2 separate regions of the Homo sapiens genome follow, and region 1 is linked to region 2. The links are contacts of gene promoters, found by promoter capture Hi-C in blood cells and fetal thymus (Javierre and others, 2016). All regions are on one chromosome and are shown on one strand. Each heading gives the region's core, a stretch centred on a gene start or on the middle of the fragment in contact. The rest is flanking DNA. Distances are from core to core; before and after follow the strand shown. Region 1 overlaps KCNAB1 (potassium voltage-gated channel subfamily A regulatory beta subunit 1). Region 2 holds the start of KCNAB1-AS1 (KCNAB1 antisense RNA 1).

Evidence for each region. The method cuts DNA at HindIII sites, captures the fragments that hold promoters and counts their contacts. A CHiCAGO score of 5 or more calls a contact.
Region 1: a contact is called between a fragment that was not itself captured here and the fragment with the promoter of KCNAB1-AS1 in region 2, in 1 of 17 cell types (endothelial precursors). The highest score is 7.1, in endothelial precursors.

Annotation. Positions count from the first base shown.
Region 1 is chr3:156,201,474-156,206,521 of GRCh38, forward strand. All of the region lies in intron 1 of KCNAB1 (potassium voltage-gated channel subfamily A regulatory beta subunit 1), which reads left to right. Among named protein-coding and RNA genes, the nearest start is that of KCNAB1-AS2, 24 kb to the right of the region's middle. The HindIII fragment of the contact is 1,051 bases long and covers 2,666-3,716 here.
Region 2 is chr3:156,444,041-156,449,190 of GRCh38, forward strand. KCNAB1-AS1 (KCNAB1 antisense RNA 1) reads right to left here and starts at 2,896. Exons shown (of 3, transcript NR_046618.2): 1 at 2,745-2,896; 2 at 1,994-2,056. The region is part of intron 2 of KCNAB1 (potassium voltage-gated channel subfamily A regulatory beta subunit 1); the gene reads left to right. It overlaps LOC124906298 (a long non-coding RNA gene), which reads right to left. Exons shown (of 5, transcript XR_007096140.1): 5 at 5,055-5,150. The HindIII fragment of the contact is 8,289 bases long and covers 1-5,150 here.

The DNA.
Region 1 (5,048 bases), core at 1,941-4,440, 240 kb before region 2:
CAAAGTTCATAGTTTAGGGTGAGTGGGTCCACTGTAGCATAGTCAGGGTGAGTGGGTCTGCTGTTTTCCTTGCCTAGTTCTGCTCCAGCAGCAGTGTCAGCGCAGGGGCGGGGGACTAGCAGGGGCAGGGCTGGCAGGCTCCATGTCCACCAATGCTCTGATGACAATGACATTGCGGCAGGGGAGGGGAAGTGCAGTGCACTCATGCCGGCAGCAGTGGCATGGTAGGCTGCATGCATACACTCATGCTGGTGGAGAAGGGAAGGCAAGGATCCATACACACATGAGAGGTGGCCGTTGGTGAGTGCAGGTATGTAAAGTGGCATGTGGGAGGCTGCGGTGTGGGGAGGGCTCAGGCAGGCTAGTGCATGTCCATGAGGGCTGCTTTGCTGGAGCATTCTGCTGGTCAGGTGCATTTGCCAGCACAGGAGCTATGATCTAGGCCCCCAGGAGGTATCTGGGTGCTTTATTGTAAGCAGGCACAATTGGGCTGGGGCTCCCACAGAGGCGAGCAGACCAAGGGGTTCTCAGGTCAGACAGGGCTCATCTCATTGGCAAGACTGCCCTGCAGAGTTCAGGTACAATAGTTTCTCTGGGGCTAAAGTCTCCTGTGGGAGCAAGTTGAGCCTGTGGGGATGGCTGTCCCTGGCCATGCTCTGCTACAGATGCTTCCACACCAAACCCTCTAGGCTCAACACTGGCTGGAGTTCTGCTCCTACCACTTCTCTAAGCAGCTCTCCCTGCCAACTCAAGTGTCTGTCATGGTTGAGGAGTCTCCTCCTGCTGGGATTCCAGAGGCCTGTGGTGAGAGTGGGTTGCTTCTTGCCTCTTCAACTTACCCATTCACCCCTTCCACAGAAGTCACTGGGGGCCAGGAACAAGTCTTGGGTGTAGCCCTCTGCAGTGTTCTCGGCTTCCTCCTCCTTCAGCCCAGCAACTGTGTCTTCCCTCCATCCACTCTCAACGCCTTTTCTCTAACGATCTGCTAGGAGTGCACCAGTCTTCCTAATGTCCCTGTCCCTCAGTGGGAGATGTTCTTTCTGGCTGTGTCTAGTCAGCCATCTTGGAGCAGGAATCCCTGGCATTTCTTTTCAGTTCTTTCTTAGAATTTCCGTCTCTCTGCTTACCCTACCTATCTGTTCTTGCATGTTGTCTACTTTGTCCACTCAGTGCCCTTAGTATATTAATCATAGTTTTATTTATAATGTCAACAGTTTTTTGGTCATAGATATTGTCTGTCATGTTAAGGTAATATTGTTTATTCCTACTGTGCCAGTGGTATTATTTTTTAAATTGGAAATCAATGTTGAATTCTGAAAAAAAATTCTGAATAAATAATATCTCACTTATTTAGATTACTACTAATAACAGATTTTTTAAAGTTGGAGTAAAAACCTCCTTACATTACTGAAATAAACTCTACTTGGTCACTGTGTAGTAGTCTTTTACTTGCTATAAGTTTTAATTTGCAAAAATTGTATTTGTAGTTTTTACCGCTAGGGTTATAGTGAGATAATTTTTTAAAGTTTTTAGATTATCTTTGACAAGTTTTGGTATTAGTGGTGTGATATTTTAACATACACACAAAAGATGATCTTTTCATCTTTTGTATGCACAGTTGGTAAACTATGGTATGACCCACATGACAAATTATTCCCATCATTTGCTTTTACAAATAAAATTTCACTGGGAGATATTCATGACCATCCATTAATGTATTGCCTGTGGCTGCTTTCCCACTGCAGTGGCAGGGTTGAGTAGTTGCAATAGAGATTGTATGGTACACAAGGCTGAAAATATTTATTCTCTGGTCCTATAAAAGTTTGCTGATCTCTGATTTAGCATAATTTAGATAGCATAGAAATGCTTTCTGTCTCTTGATGATCTAGAGGAGCTCACTCCTGAAACAAAAGCATGGGCTCTAGAGTAAGATAGCATTGGGTTTAAAACTCAGCTCCAGCCCACATTATTAATGATGTGATGCTGGGCAACATACTTAACCTTCCTATGGACCGTTTTCCCCAACTATAAAATGTGAATAGTAATAAAAATAATAATACTTGCTTAAAATAATACTATAAAGAATGAAATACGTTAACACATGTTCAAAATACTTGTCAGAATGCTAGGAATGCATACATTCTTAAATACAAGTTATTGTTATGTTTCTCTTGGGAGAGTTTTTTGATACTGCCGTCAAATCATGTTTGTTTTCTGCAGTACCCAAAGGCTATTTGCTGCCAAAGATATATTCTTAAATTAAGTAAATTAGTTTTTTATCTGAAAGTATTTTTTCCAATCCAGATTCTTTCTATCAAATATATGTTTTTCAAATCTTACAGAAATAATATTTTCTAAAGTTTACTCTGTCTTTTCAGCAAGTCTCTTTTATAGTTTTGTATTCTTTCTTGCTTTGATTCTTCAGATCTTCTTCTAAACTTCTGTGATTACTCATATATTCAGTGATTGTTTTTCATTTGTGCATCAGGGGGAATCATCTTTTGCTCATTGCTGGGACTGCAGATAGGTCCAGATCATACTTATTTGGGTCTTTCTCCAATATTTCAGGTCTGGGCACAGGGTGAAAAGAAGAGCTTAGAGTAGAAACCAAGATGTCAGTGGGAGTAGGAAGACAGCTATTGTTTATTTAAGCTGTAAGGCTGAAAGCTTCACTTGTCCAAAAAAGTTTATTTTCTATGACGATTACATTCATAAGTTAGCTGAGCACTTTCCAACCACTATATTTACTGAATTATTAGGAGCCATGCACTCCCAGGTGGGGCGGGACTGAGATTTGCCCTCCTACTCATCGCTGCATGGCCTTCTCTTGTCTCCAGCTCCTGTCACTTGTAGAGGTTTGGCTCAGGGTCTCATTCACTAACTTCCCAGGTGGGAAATTACTTTTTAGGTTATGACTCAGGGTTTGGTAGGCTCCTTTTAAAATCTAGTCTTACATGTATTTTATCTTATAGGCATTTTCAAAGTTACCAGCATATAGAAGAGACACTTCCCTCTGTTTAGAACTGACATAAATTCTCTATCTCTATCCATTTGAATAGAAATAAGGGGCAAGCTGGCCGGCCATGGTGGCTCACACCTGTAATCTCAGCACTTTGGGAGGCCGAGGCGGGTGGATCACTTGAGGCCAGGAATTTGAGACCAGCCTGGCTAACATGGTGAATCCCCATCTCTACTAAAAATAACAAAACATTAACTGGATGTGGTGGCACATGCCTGTAGTCCCAGCTACTCAGGAGGCTGAGGCACGAGAATCGTTGGAACCCAGGAGCCGGAGGTTGCAATGAACCGGATTGTGCCACTGCACTCCAGTCTGGGCGACAGAGTGAGACTCTGTCTCAACAACAACAATAACAACAACAACAAAAATAAATAAATAAAAATAAGGGGCAAGCTAAGTTGGGCAGCTAGGATGATGGACTCGAATCAGATGTCAATTGATTTTCTTATTTTTTTAAAAATTGTGGTATTCAAACACAAGAGAAAACATTTCTATCAAATAGCCAACATGTACAACACAAAAATTATATATCTCTTAAATACCTTGGCAATTGATAATTATATTAAGTGAGTTTTGTAAATTACTTGAAAAGATAATTGTAAGAAGACTTCTTTTCTTTGCCAACTCTGGGGTAAAGAAGGGATTCTTAGAAAGAACATTTTCACGGAGAAGGCAAAATTCCAAGTTTCCTTTCTCAAGCTTAATTTTCATAGATTGAGCTATATTGGTTCTATATCTGTGTCCATAAGTCAGTTATTCAGATAATGAAAAAAACATTTAAACATCCACCTTGGTATGAATTTTTGGTTTCCGTGTTTTAATTTAAGCCAAAATATTTTTTGGTTTGAATTTATTATTTCAATAAATAATAGTGAAATTATTTCACTATTCCACTTTGCTTTGCATGTGTGAATTAAGCCAGTGGAAGCTTCAGGTGTAATAGAATTTGATGGCGTTAATAAATATAAAAGTGAATTTGCACAAAAAATATGAGATGAACAGTAGGAACACCTGGCATGGGACAGAACATCCTTGTTAGTATGCAGGTAAATTCAGTTACTTTCATTTTCTTTTCTCCCCTATACATTGGTTGTCAGGTCCGATCGATCATCAAGTCCAGTTGTTTCTAACACCTAGCTCTCTCCCTAAACTACCCGCTCCTTCCTCTGCACTGAGACATAATCTCTTGCCCCCAAATTCAGTGGCCTCTGAAGAGGTGCTTTTAGACTCTGCCCTCCTCTAATCCCCATTGTCTGTCCTACATTGACTTCTAAAATATGGATCTGGCCTTGTCAATACCCTGACTAGATGCTTTAATGCCTTTAAGGATAAGAACTGAAATCTTTACCATTGCAAAAAGTGGTCTCAATCATCTGTGCAATCTGAGACTTTCCCCAGGCCCTTCAGTCCAGGCACATGGATAGTCCTGTTGTTCCTAGAAGACGTCATGCTCTTTTATGCCTCTGTGCACTTGTACATGCTGTTTTGTTTGCCGGGATCACCTTTGCCCCTTTACTACATTACTGTGCACTGTCCTATCATATTCTACCTTCAAGAATCAGGTAAAACATCACCAAGCCCATTTGGGGAGTTTGCACTCCCCAGTTTTTGGCCTCTGGAGCATTTGCACGTATCTTTATTTGATGATGGTTCCCTAGCATTCATTCCCTCTTTCTTTGACCAGTGGTTCTCAGATCCCTGGGGATCTGTCTCTCCTCCATTGTCAGGTTATGGGGATTGGCTTGACCTCACACTCAACCCAAATGATGGCTCTCACTGACTTAAGAATATTTCACTTTCCTGGCTCCAGTGACTGGCTCAAGGGTGATCTGAGCCAGTCCAATTAGCATGAACCCAAAACCATACTGTGGTTGTGACACACAGACATCACTTCTCTTCTGGGTTTGGTGGTATGAGGCTTAGATTCCTATGACCATCCCCCTGCAACAAGGAGAACCTTCCTGAGGCTATAAACAAGCACTTTAAGGAGGAAGAGTTGAGAGAAGGAGCCTAGAAACATCAGTGAACC
Region 2 (5,150 bases), core at 1,646-4,145:
TGCTCATTAGCAACAGGCTAGAAGCCAAAAATGAAAGACCAGGCTGCAGCTTGGATCCAAAAATAAGGGCCAGGCTCTGTGGAAAATACTGACAGATGCGAGCCAGAACAAGGAAGAATGCTTTGTGTGCGTCATTTGAAAAAGAACACGTCCAAGCACCCAGACATAGGTCTTCATGTAGTTTATCTTAGTGGCCACAGTAGGGTTGCTCAGAGCATTGTTTTGCCTCCAAATCACATGGGATGCTTGATAAACATACAGATGCCCCAGCTGCAGCTCATATCTGCAGAATAAGAATCTGTGTGGGGGTCCTGGGGGATTCTAATGCACCCTGAAGAGTAAGACCTATTGATCTGAGATTGGGAGAATTAATGCTTGAGCTATGATGGAGGCTGGTAAGCACTTAGGAAATTTCACTGCATTCTCCCAAAAATCCTGTGAACTAGTTATGATTATTACCATTACCATCCCATCTTGCTAGTGAGTGGTGGAGTCAGAACTCCAGCCCAGGCCTCCTGATGTCCCCTTACTTACTTAGCCTTTTATTCTAGGCCTCACCAGCAAGAGGGTATCTTCATTCCATGCCCTTCAATTGGTAGAGAGTGCCAAGGGCAAGAAGCCAATTCCTCACCTCCATTACCTGTCTTTACATCCCAGCGCCATCATGGGCCTTCCCCTCAGGCCAGATTTCTAAGAATTTGGTTCTGTTTGTTTTGTTTTGATTCTGCATGAAATAAAGAAGGTTAAGGTAACTATGTAGCTTCCCTCTCTTATTGAAATAACAGTGCCCTCTCTACACCATCCCGTGATTGCCAGGGTGCAGGAGCATGTCTGCTGGATTTAAATCCCAGCTTTTACTCCACCACTTACTAGTTATTTAAACTTTGGGCATGTCATTTAACCTCTGGAAAATAGAGATGGCAGCAATTGAGTAAAAGAAGAAGAAAGGCAAGTCAGGGTGTAAAGAAAAGGATGGGCTGGATGCTGTGGCTCACGCCTGTAATACCACCACTTTGGGAGGCTGCGGTGGGCGGATCACAGGGTCAGTAGTTCAAGACCAACATGGCCAACATGGTGAAACCTTGTCTCTAATAAAAATACAAAAATTGGCCGGGCACGGTGGCACGCGCCTGTAATCCCAGCTACTCAGGAGGCTAAAGCAGGAGAATTGCTTGAACCTGGGAGGCGGAAGTTGCAGTGAGCCCAGATTGTGCCACTGCACTCAGGCCTGGGTGACAGAGCGAGACTCTGTCTCTGAAACAAAAACCAAAACAAAGCACAAAGGAAAAGGATGAGATGCTACCGGTATGAGAAGAATATAAACTGTGGTTCTCAACCCTGACTGCAATTAGAGTTATCTGAGGATCTTTTAAAAATACTGATGCCAGGATTCCACTCCCAGAAATTCTGATTTCACTGGGGTGTGGTGAGGAATCAGGTCAGCAATACCATTTATATCCCCCCAGGATATTCAAATGCGCAGTTGTGGTTAAAAACCTCTTGTTGAAGATAGTGAGGAAAACAACCAACGTTCCACAAATGCTCTCTGGTTAGAGACACTTTCTTAGTAAGGGTGAGAATGCTTACTGATTGAACAAGCAATTATTACTCACTTACCCTGTGCCAGGCTCCAGTGCAATGGCTAAAATTTAAAATTTAAATTAAACTTAAACTTAGTCCCTGATCTCAGGATAGTTGCAGTCTAATGAGGAAGTCACAGCCAAAAATAAACTATGCGGTTACAATATAGTGTGGTCAATATGGTAATAGCAGTTAGTTCAAAATGGTAGGAGAAGAGTAAATGGAATGACTTCTTCTCCTTTCAAAGAAACCATAGAATCATGAAATAATAGAGATGAAGGAAGCTCAAGGTTCCTAATTTTGTGCATAAGGAAACAAGAAATCAAGAGATTGGAGGTTTCTCAGAGTCACAGAGTTAATGCAAGAGAACCTAAAAAATTCTAATGATGTAGCAAGACATACTTTAACTCACCAGGGGAAGTGCTAAGAAACTATGGCTTAGCAGCACTGGACTCTGAAGCTGGAGTTCTGGGTCCTGAAAAATAAGTAGAATTTGGACATAAAGGCATGGGGAAGGTTTAGATTTTCAGTGGAAGGCTCAGCCCATAGCTCAAAGGAGAACATGCTCACCAGGGTAATGACCTGGAGCTTAAGGATCTCAGGTGGTGGCCAACAGCTTAGGGCTCCCTCCTCCACATCAACTCTAGTTTTGGGCTTACACCTATTTCTTGCTGGATACGCAATTTAGAGGGATGCTCCCACCTCCAGTTCCACTCCTCTTTGGGGGTTATACTATACAACTGAGACATTGAACATGTTAATTTTACCTGGTGTATTGCTTAATTTCAATGTGACCTAGGGTTTGAACCTCTTATCTTAAATTCTTTAGTGACGTAACAGATTAACACCTCAAAATAGATGAAATGTCTCTCAATTATGACTACATTTGGTCAGTCTTGACTATATTAAGCTGCAGTTCACATGTGCTCTGTTTACCAAACTTAAAATCATTAAATCTATATTGAAATGTGTTGAATTGGCTCTCCATTCTCCCCATACTCTGACCTTGGTGTTCTCCTAGAGGTTTCACCTTCTCTCACACCCTACACATCCTTTTACACCAGTAAATACTATTGCTTCCCCTTCAAAATTTATCCAAAATTCAACCACTCCTCGCCATCCTCACTACCACCACCTTGGACCAAACCACTGTCATGTCTCACCTGGATTATGGGAACAGCCTCCTAACTGGTCCCCCATGTTTCAGCCTCGCCTCTGCAGTCTATCCTTAGCACAATAGCAGAGTGTTCCTTTTAAAAGAAAGTCAGATTGTGTCACTTCTGTATTCAAAATTATTCACTAGCCTTTCCTAGGTCCTTCCTATGATTGACATGACATGATCTGGCCCCCATGAACCTCACCTTCTCTTCTCTGGCCACACTGGCTTCCTCCTTGTCCTTGCTCATGTTGAGCAAGCCCCTACCTCACTGCTCCCTGCAACTGGAACACTCTCCCTCCAGATAAGCGCCTGGTGAGCCCCTTCACTTTCTTTAGGTCTTTTCTTGAAAGCTCCTTTCTTAGTGAATCTTATCTGGCCACCCTATCTAAAATTTCAATACTGATTCCTAGACATTTCATATACTCTATCCCTGCTTTATAAAATTGATTCTCTAACATTCATCAGTCAACATTATGTATTTTATTTTACATTTTATTTATTTGTAAAATTAACATTTATAAACACTATATATTTAACTTATTTTTGTTATTCCTTTTTCTTTACCCATATATCTGTTTCACGATGGGAGAAATAATTACCAGTTTTGTTCACTGTTGCATCCCAATAAACTAAGTACAACACCTGGCACACGGTAGACTCAATAAATACTTGTTGAATGAAAAAGTGAGGAAATGTTAACTGTGGCATAATAAATATTAATATTATAATTGCATTTACATATTCTCTTCTTGATAGCTATAATAATATATTCAAACCATAGGGAGACCAACCTGCACTATAGAATTTTATAACCTTAAGATGATTTAGACCCAAATTAAGGGACATTCTACAGAATACTTGATGAGTACTTTTAAAAGTGTCTACATCATGAAAGACAGGGAAAGACTGAGGAAGTGTCACATATTGGAGTGGATTAAGAAAACATACAATTAAATGCAATGTTGGATGCTGCTTAAGATCCTGGAAGAGAAAAAAAGACAATGAAATTCCAAAAAGATCTATTGTATTAGTACTGTACCCATGTTAATTCCCTGGTTTTGATAATTGCACTATGGTGATGTAAGATATTAAAATGATCTCATCTAAATGTCTAAATATCCTTTATACTCCAAGCAAGGCAGTCATTTAAATGGTAAACATGTTTTTTGAATGAGTACGCAAGAAGTAATTACCCTGATAATCACCAAACGATAATGAGGTAACCAAGATAGATGTGTGTGGTGGGCAGTTTTCTTCTTTTTACCTTTCATCCATCATTTTTCTGTGCTATGGTAGATTTACTCCAAGGAACCTAACACAGGTTTTCAAAGCAAATATTCCTTGGTCCATAAAGGGGTTTAATCAGAAGACACAAAATAGTTCAAAGAGTTATCTTTATACTCTCCCTTCTTTTAAAAGGTTAGAAATAACAATTGTCAGTTTAGTAAAATCATCTTGTAAATAACATCCCACTAATTTGAGATTACACAGTGAAATAATTGTATGCCATTCTAGGTCTCAGGAAAGCATGTTCTCATTAGAGGGAGAAAAATGGTTAAGAAAACTGTCACAGAGGGTTTTTGAGAATCATATTAACTAACAAGTCACCTTAGTTCTTCTGGAGTGGAGCACAGTGGAAAATAAAATCATAGAAACAGAGTTCTTCTGTCTAGAAGGCTGTTGCCCCGTTCCTCTCCAGCAGGAGGGGATGTGTCCTGTCTGTGAGAGGCAACTCCTCCTCAGGAGTAGAAAGTGGACCCCACCTACACTGGGCCACTTACCCATCTGCTTGCTGGAGGCATTTCAGCCAAGGAGAAAGACTTTCCCTTGGCCTTTTTCCACAAAGGGGCATAGCTGGGTGGGTACCCAGGGATAGGGAGAAACATTTCAATCATCTAGAGACTAGAAGAACTAAAGATTATTGATAAGCATTATTCATTTTTCTATAAGTCATAATAAAGATGTTTGTTTGGTAGGAAATATTCATTTTTCTATAAGTCATAATAAAGATGTTTGTTTGGTAGGAAATTATCCCAAAATTTTAAAGATTAATAACAGTCAACAAGGCAATGTAATTCAATTTAACCAACACTTACTGACCATGTACTAAGAACCCACTTCTATTCTAGGGCTGTGGAGATGCAAAGACGAATGAAATAAAAGTGTAGCCCTCAGACAGCTTACTCTCTAGTAAAAGATATAAACTCTATAAACAAGTAGGTAGAAAACAAATGAGTAGCAAGTGTCGAAGGGCCAGGGAGGTAGTCATCATGAACAAAATAAGCTGAATATAAGAATGACAAACTCCAAGAAATGGAAGCAAACACTTTATTCTTATTAAATTATGGAATAGGTATGTAATAATGTAAATATATATAATATTCATATGCTATTTTATATTAAATTTTAA